Linked DNA regions of Homo sapiens: region 1 is linked to region 2. The links are contacts of gene promoters, found by promoter capture Hi-C in human tissues and cell types (Jung and others, 2019). All regions are on one chromosome and are shown on one strand. Each heading gives the region's core, a stretch centred on a gene start or on the middle of the fragment in contact. The rest is flanking DNA. Distances are from core to core; before and after follow the strand shown.

Evidence for each region. Contacts are between HindIII fragments. The study calls those that stand out against the background at their distance.
Region 1: a contact is called between a fragment that was not itself captured here and the fragment with the promoter of SGSM1 in region 2, in 2 of the 25 tissues and cell types used here (neural progenitor cells and thymus).

The regions. Positions count from the first base shown.
Region 1 is chr22:24,718,512-24,722,184 of GRCh38, reverse strand. PIWIL3 (piwi like RNA-mediated gene silencing 3) reads left to right here. Exons shown (of 21, transcript NM_001255975.1): 20 at 2,290-2,437; 21 at 2,597-3,151. The coding sequence ends at 2,713. Among named protein-coding and RNA genes, the nearest start is that of PIWIL3, 54 kb to the left of the region's middle. The HindIII fragment of the contact is 7,147 bases long and covers 1-3,673 here.
Region 2 is chr22:24,803,938-24,807,460 of GRCh38, reverse strand. It overlaps SGSM1 (small G protein signaling modulator 1), which reads right to left and starts at 1,250. Exons shown (of 25, transcript NM_001098497.3): 1 at 1,117-1,250; 2 at 977-1,020. The coding sequence starts at 1,135. RefSeq lists a silencer at 1,203-1,412. The HindIII fragment of the contact is 18,100 bases long and covers 1-3,523 here.

The sequences.
Region 1 (3,673 bases), core at 637-3,136, 86 kb after region 2:
TGTGAACCAGGGAGGCGGAGCTTGCAGTGAGCGGAGATCGTGCCACTGCACTCCAGCCTGGGTGACAGAGTGAGACTCCTTCTCAAAACAAAAACAAAAATAAAACAGCAGTGTGAAAAAAGAGACCAGTTTCTTTTATGTGAAACATTTTGTATGACACTTATCCTAAGAACCTGAACAAGGAAATGATGTGTTCAGAAAGTAATACTGAATATGCTACAAAATAGTTTCGTATAGTCAGCTCTGTTGTTCATGGACACAAGGAAGTAATTCCAAACAGTAATTTAGAAGTCTTTTTCTTGTTATGAGGATGCAAGTCATTATGAATTAGAGCCAGCCTTTAAGACATTAAGATTAGATACAACTTCCAGAAGATGAAATGGTTAGAGACATTCTATATAAAAATGTATTGAAATAAGAAAAGATATAAAAAGGAATAAAGGCCGTAAGAATATCTAATGAAAAGGTCAATTTGTATTTGAATATCTAACAAACATGAATATAGTCAAAACGAAGAAAAATCAGTGGAAGGGTTAAAGAGAAGGTTAGACATAAAAGAAAACAAATTGTTAACTGGAACATATGTTCACAAAATTCCCATAATGCAGTGGGGAGCCATAAAGATATGGAAGATATGAAAAAATGTTTAGAAAAATGTAAGGCAAAATAAGATTTGCTCTATACCAAATAGAAGTTTCAGTAGTAGATAAGATATGATGGGGGTGTGGTGGGGTGGAGCAATATTCAAAGAGAAAGTCTGAGATTCTGAATCCTAAGACTGAAGAATAACAAGATTTGAGCAAAAATCAATAAAAGTTCACACTTAGAAATGTTATAGTGAAACTTCAGCAGGCATAAGAAAATTTAAAAGCAACCACAGGAATAATATATTTACAAACAATAAAAATCACATTCAGCAAGAGTAGAAATCAGAATACTATGAAATATCTTTAAAATGCTTAAAAATAACCATCAAGCTAGAATTTGATACCCGGCTAACTTATCAAGGGTGACAGTGAAATACAAACATGCTCAGTTAGTGCCTATACAGTATATACATTAACAGATCCACCAGATACTCACTGAGAGAGCTACCCAAAAAGACTGTATTTCAGGAAGAAGGAAATCAAACAGTTAAGAGAGAATGAAATGCAAGAAGCAATGCTGATCAGTTACGATGGAGTATAAAAAAGCCTTGATTTCATACATGACAATTTATAGGGTATATTAAAACAAGACCTAAAATACTGGATATAGCACTTACATAGAAAAAGAATTATGAGGTCAAAGTATACACTAAGATTCTTTAGTTACCAGGGAAAATGATAAAGCTGCTGCTGCTCTATACTTGTCAATTATACAAATGAAAGACTTACTTGAAACCACAGTGGAATTAATGATATTCATACCAAGAGTTGAGGAGAAATGAAGTAAAATGAAGGAAAGGCAGAAACATTTGATCAATCTAACATAAGGCAGGAAAGGATTAAAGGATGGAGCAAATAAAAAGTATCATAAACATAAAGTACAACATAAGATTGTACACATAAAAATAAATTCAATATTTATAACACATAGATCAATCTTACCGGTTGTATTGTTTAAGAAGTTTAAGGCCAGGCGCAGTGGCTCATGCCTGTAATCCCAGCACTTTGGGAGGCCGAGGCAGGCAGATCATGAGGTCAGGAGATTGAGACCATCCTGGCTAACACGGTGAAACCCCATCTCTACTAAAAATATAAAAAATTAGCCGGGTGTGGTGGTGGGCGCCTGTAGTCCCAGCTACTCGGGAGGCTGAGGCAGGAGAACGGCGTGAACCCAGGAGGCAGAGCTTGCAGTGAGCTGAGATTGCGCCACTGCACTCCAGCCTGGGCGACAGAGCCAGACTCCGTCTAAAAAAAAAAAAAAAAAAAAAAAAAAAAAAACAGTTTAAATATAGTCCAGTGATTCTCAGCGAGGCAGCAGGCCTTCATCCAAGAATCTCCGAATAGAATTATCTATGGCCATATCAGATCAAATGTGCCAATCTTGTTTCTTCCTCTAGGTTTCAGTGCATGTACTTGAAGGCAAAATCCCACGAGAGTTACTGTGTCAGTGATTTAATTGCCTTCTATAGACTTGATTTCTCAAATCGTTGTTTATCAGTTAGGTTTCTAAATGTAAAGGAAACTTAATCTATAGAATAGATTTTTGTAAGCAATTATACTAAATGTTTTCATTTCAGACATTAAGTTTACTATATACCCTCTTTCTAAAATGAGCTGATACCCACATGTCCTATATTTCCAGGTATGACTTTTTTATTGTGAGTCAGTCTGTGCAAGATGGGACTGTTACCCCCACTCATTATAACGTCATCTATGACACGATTGGCTTGAGCCCAGATACAGTACAGCGTTTAACATATTGTCTATGCCACATGTATTATAATTTGCCAGTAAGTACTTTTTGTTACTTTTTTCTTCAGATTTTTTAAATGTACTATTCAACATTGAACAATGTTGGACCTCTGAACTGGCTTCTATGAATTTAAATTTAGGGAAAGTAGATGTAAAGTGAAAAAAATTTAGTTGTGTATTTTCTTTTCCTACTAAAGGGCATCATCCGAGTTCCAGCGCCTTGCCACTATGCCCACAAGCTGGCTTACCTCGTGGGGCAGTCCATTCACCAGGAACCGAATCGTTCCTTGTCAACTCGTCTCTTTTACCTTTGACCTGCAGAAGAAGACCTGATGTGCTAATGAAACCACAACGTGTAAGCCTGTCTTCCTTTTGAAGCAGGATGTCTGAAATATTTTCCTAGGTCCATAGCATTAAATTCTCATCGTTTTTGATTGGACACAGGAGAGATTCAGAGTGATATGTTCTACTCTCAATACTACCACAGACTGATTTTTCCAGAGAGGAGAACTGACAGGGTTTGGCTTGCAGTTTCCCTTTCAAATATGTGACAGAGATCTCACAGCTGAACGTGACTGAACATTTTCCACCCCAAGCAGGGCCACTCTAAGAATTGAAAAGATGGGGCATTCGTCACAGAGAGAGTACATCTGTGAACAAGTAAACTCTACTTGGAAAACTACGTTTACTTTATTTTTGAAACTTTTTTTTGTTAAAGGACAGGAAAGGAAGACATAAAAGTAACAACACTGAATTTCTGTTTAATATTTGTATTTAGAATTAACCTATTACTGATGAGCTATATAGGAAGCATTGTGTTATTCCTTGTGCTGGGGTGGGAATTTGGATGGATTTTTGGTGGAAAGGTCATAAGGAAAGCTGGATTACGCCTGTAATCCCAGCACTTTTAGAAGCCTGAGGTGAGCGGATCACCTGAGGTCATGAGCTTCAGACTAGCCTGGCCAATATGGGGAAACCCCGTCTCTACTAAAAATACAAAAATTAGCCAGGTGTGGTGGCGGGTGCCTGTAATCCCAGCTACTCGGGAGGCTGAGGCAGAAGAATCGCTTGAACCCAGGAGGCAGAGGTTGCAGCAAGCTGAGATCATGCCACAGCACTCCAGCCTGGGCAACAGAGTGAGACTCTGTCTCAAAAACAAAACAAAACAAAACAAAACAAAAGATTGGCAGCTTAGGAACACAAACATTTGATTAGTCTTTCCACAAAGAAGGAAAACTAAGCTTTCTTAATGAATTTGTTTAATTCATTCTATT
Region 2 (3,523 bases), core at 1-2,500:
ATCACTCATTCACAGACTCATGCACCACACAATATACACACACAGACCCACCCTCACAAAAACAGATACAAAGACACACATAGATACGTGTACACACAGTGCAAAGAGATACACTTAGGTATCTCCAGACAGATGCACAGACATTCTCATACGCACACACTCACAGCCACAGGTCCTCACCCATGCAGGTATACACACCAGAGCACGCAGTCCAGGCATCGAGATGCTACCCCAAGGACTATAAATTCTGTCTATGGGGTTCTGGGAGGTCATTGGCCATGAGCCCTAAAGACTAGACTGCCCCCCTCTCCACGCGCTGACCCCAAGGAGAGTGGAGGGGCAGAGGAATGGCAGAACCTCTCTGATTCTCACCCTCTGAATGTGGGGTGGGAGTGGGGCGGGGGGAGTGAAGGGACCCCTACTGCCAGGGGAGCAGCTCACTGACCCGTGACTCTCAGGGAGGGAGTCCCCTGGCTCTTGGAGGTGGCTCCAAGGACTGAGAATTCGGGGGCTGGGAAGGGAGGTTTTATTTTCCTTCTGCCTTTTCCTGAAGCGTGCCCCACCTTCGGCAGCCCCATTCAGAGCCCCTCCTCCAGCACACCCTGTGGGGGGCGTCCCCCTAGCAGCTTCTCTCTCTTGGAAGGTCCCCTTCCTGAGCCGCGCCCACCTGCTCCTCCACAAGAGGAGGTCCTATCGGGATACATCCAGGTGTGCCCCACACCTGGAGGGCCCTCACGCTACATCCGCCCCCGCAAAAAGCCTCAAATGGGCCAAAGCCTCCCCACACCTACGCCCACCCCCAAACTCCCTCGCTGCGCCTCCTGCCCTGCGGGAGGTCAATGCCCACCCAGGTGAGCCCCACACCTGTTCTGGCCGCCCCCCCGCCGCCAGAGGCCACCCTTCCACGAAGACTCTTTTCCCGTTTGGCCGCTGCTGCCGGGGGAGTCCTGCCCAGTGCCCCCACCCCGGCACCCACCTCCTTCTTGACGGTGCGTAGCAGCCTCTGTCGGGTCTCCGCCTCTGTGGGACAAGAAACGAGAGCCGCGGGTCAGCCGAGAGAGGGTGCGGGGGCCGGGCGCTGCCCTCCCGCCGCCCTCGTGTCCAGCGGCCTCTTACCCGCGGGGGCCGAGGCCATGGCTCCGAGCGCTGCGTTCCGAGTCCCAGGAGGCGGTGGCGGCGGTGGCGGCGGTAGCTCCTCCGGCCGCGGCGCTGCTGCTGCAGCCGCGGCGGGGCGGGGCCGAGCGCTGAGTGACGGCCGGAGGGCGCCCGACGTCAGGACCCGAGGCGGCCGCCCCACCCCTCCGGAAAGCCACCGCTCGGCGGGGCAGCCGGGTCGCCTGCGCCAGGAGCCTTCGCGCCAAGCACGCACGCTCCCTCCCGCGCACCCAGCGCCCGAGCCTCTCAGGCTCCCCCAACCTCCACGCCAGCGCCCGCGTCCCTCCCTCTTCCCTAGGGCGGGGAAGGAAAGCGTCCGTCCTGAACCCTCCTCTGTGGGCCAGGCTCCAGGAAGTCACAGGAAATGGTGGGGCTACTACCGATATTCTCCAAGCCTCAGTTTTCTCATCTTTAAAATGGGTATAATGTGGTATAAAATGGGCATAATGGGTCTCAGAACGATCTGAGCCTTAAGTGAGATATTGGATGTGAAGCCCTTAATACAGACCCAGGGGGAAAGGCCAGCGAGCATAAATGCTTGCCACTGTTACTGTTATTATTATTAATTATTATTATTGAGGGTCTTCCAGCCGGTCGCGGTGGCTCACGCCTGTAATCCCAACACTTTGGGAGGCCGAGGCGGGCAGATCACTTGAGGTCAGGAGTTCGAGACCAGCCTGGCCAACATAGTGAAACCCCGTCTCTACGAAAATACAAAAATTAGCCGGACATGATGGCGAGCTGCCTGTAATCCCAGCTACTGGGGAGGCTAAGGCAGGAGAATCTCTTGAACCCGGGAAGCAGAGGTTACAGTGATCCAACATGGCGCCATTGCACTCCAGCCTGAGCGACAGAGTGAGACTCCGTCTCAAAAAATAAAAAAAATACAAATACAAAAATTAGCCAGGCATGGTGGCGTGCTCCTGTAATCCCAGCTACTCAGGAGGCTGAGGCATGAGAATTGCTTGAACCCTGGAGGCAGAGGTGTCAGTGAGCCAAGATTGTGCCACCACACTCCAGCCTGGGCAACAAAAGTGAAACTCCATCTCAAAAAAAAAAAAAAAAAAAAGAGTCTTCCAAGATACACTGGTTATCCATTCAGGAGAGGCCGGGACTTAAGTGGCTCCCTCCCCGACATGCAGGTCACTGGAGGAGTGGGGTTTTCCCAGGAGTCTGGCCCCAAAAGGAGGCACTTGTCAGCCAGGATCTCTGGGGCTGAGCAAGCAGTGGGCTCTGTGGGAAAAGCCTTGTTCCATCAAGAGCCCCTGGTCACCCCAAGTCCCTAACTGTATCCACCCAGAATGCAACTCAGGTCAATATTTATTGAGCACCTACTCTGTGCCAAGTGACTGTGCTAGAGATTTCTAAGTGAGCAAGACAGACAATGAACTCTGCCCTCATGGAGTTTAGGAGGCGGACAACAAAATATGTAAGAAAAGGACAGACCATGCTGGAAAGTTCTGGAGAAAAATTAAGTAGGCAAGGGGGACAGGGAGGGCCCAGACCCCTGGGGATCGTATTCTGAAGTAGGGTGGTTGAGGGAGGCCCCACTGAGCAGGTGACATTTAAGCAAAGAGGAAAAGGAGTAGGCCATGGGGATTTCTGGAGGAAGAGCAGTTGAGTCAAGGGAACAGCAAATGCAAAGTCCCTGAGGAGGGAGTGTGTCCAGTCAAACAGTGACAAATAGCACAGATGCCTGTGGGGCTGGAGTGGTGTGAACAATGGGGACGGTGGTGGGATGTTGGCCAGAGAGGTGCAGGGCCAAAACCCTGTATGACTTTGATGGTGATGTTAAGGATTTGCAATGCCTTTTAGGGTCCCCCAGTATTCAGGCCTTCCTTCAGAAGGACTAGAGGGCAGCTTAGAGTGCCTCTCCGTGCAGCAGTGGATCCAGAGCCCCCTTTTTTCCATTGGTCAGTGTCAGGGGTCTCTGGCCGTAAGCCACAGAAGCTGACTTTGGCTTCCTCAGGCAAAAGGAAATAAACTGGGAAGATAATATGTGATCCCAGAGCCCATGGGAGCCTGGAGAACTGGGAAATGGGATGAAATCAAGGTGGCTCTGGAAGGCCAGAAAGGGGAATCTTGGGAATATTTGCCTGGCAAGGACAGTGTGGTTAGGGCACTGCTGCTCTGGTAAAGAGAATGCCATTCGTTTAAGGTTTTCATCCTATGGAGGGAGTGCCTGATTGTCCTGACCTGGGACACAAGCCTGCCCATTGGCTTGGGGAGAGGTGTCTCAATCACAAACCCCTGCTCCACAATCTCCAGCAAGTCCCCCAGGAGAATGGGAAATGGTTGCTTGGCAGCAAAAATAATCATATATTGCGCACCTACTATGTGGCAGGCACTGCGCTAAGGGCTTTGGGTT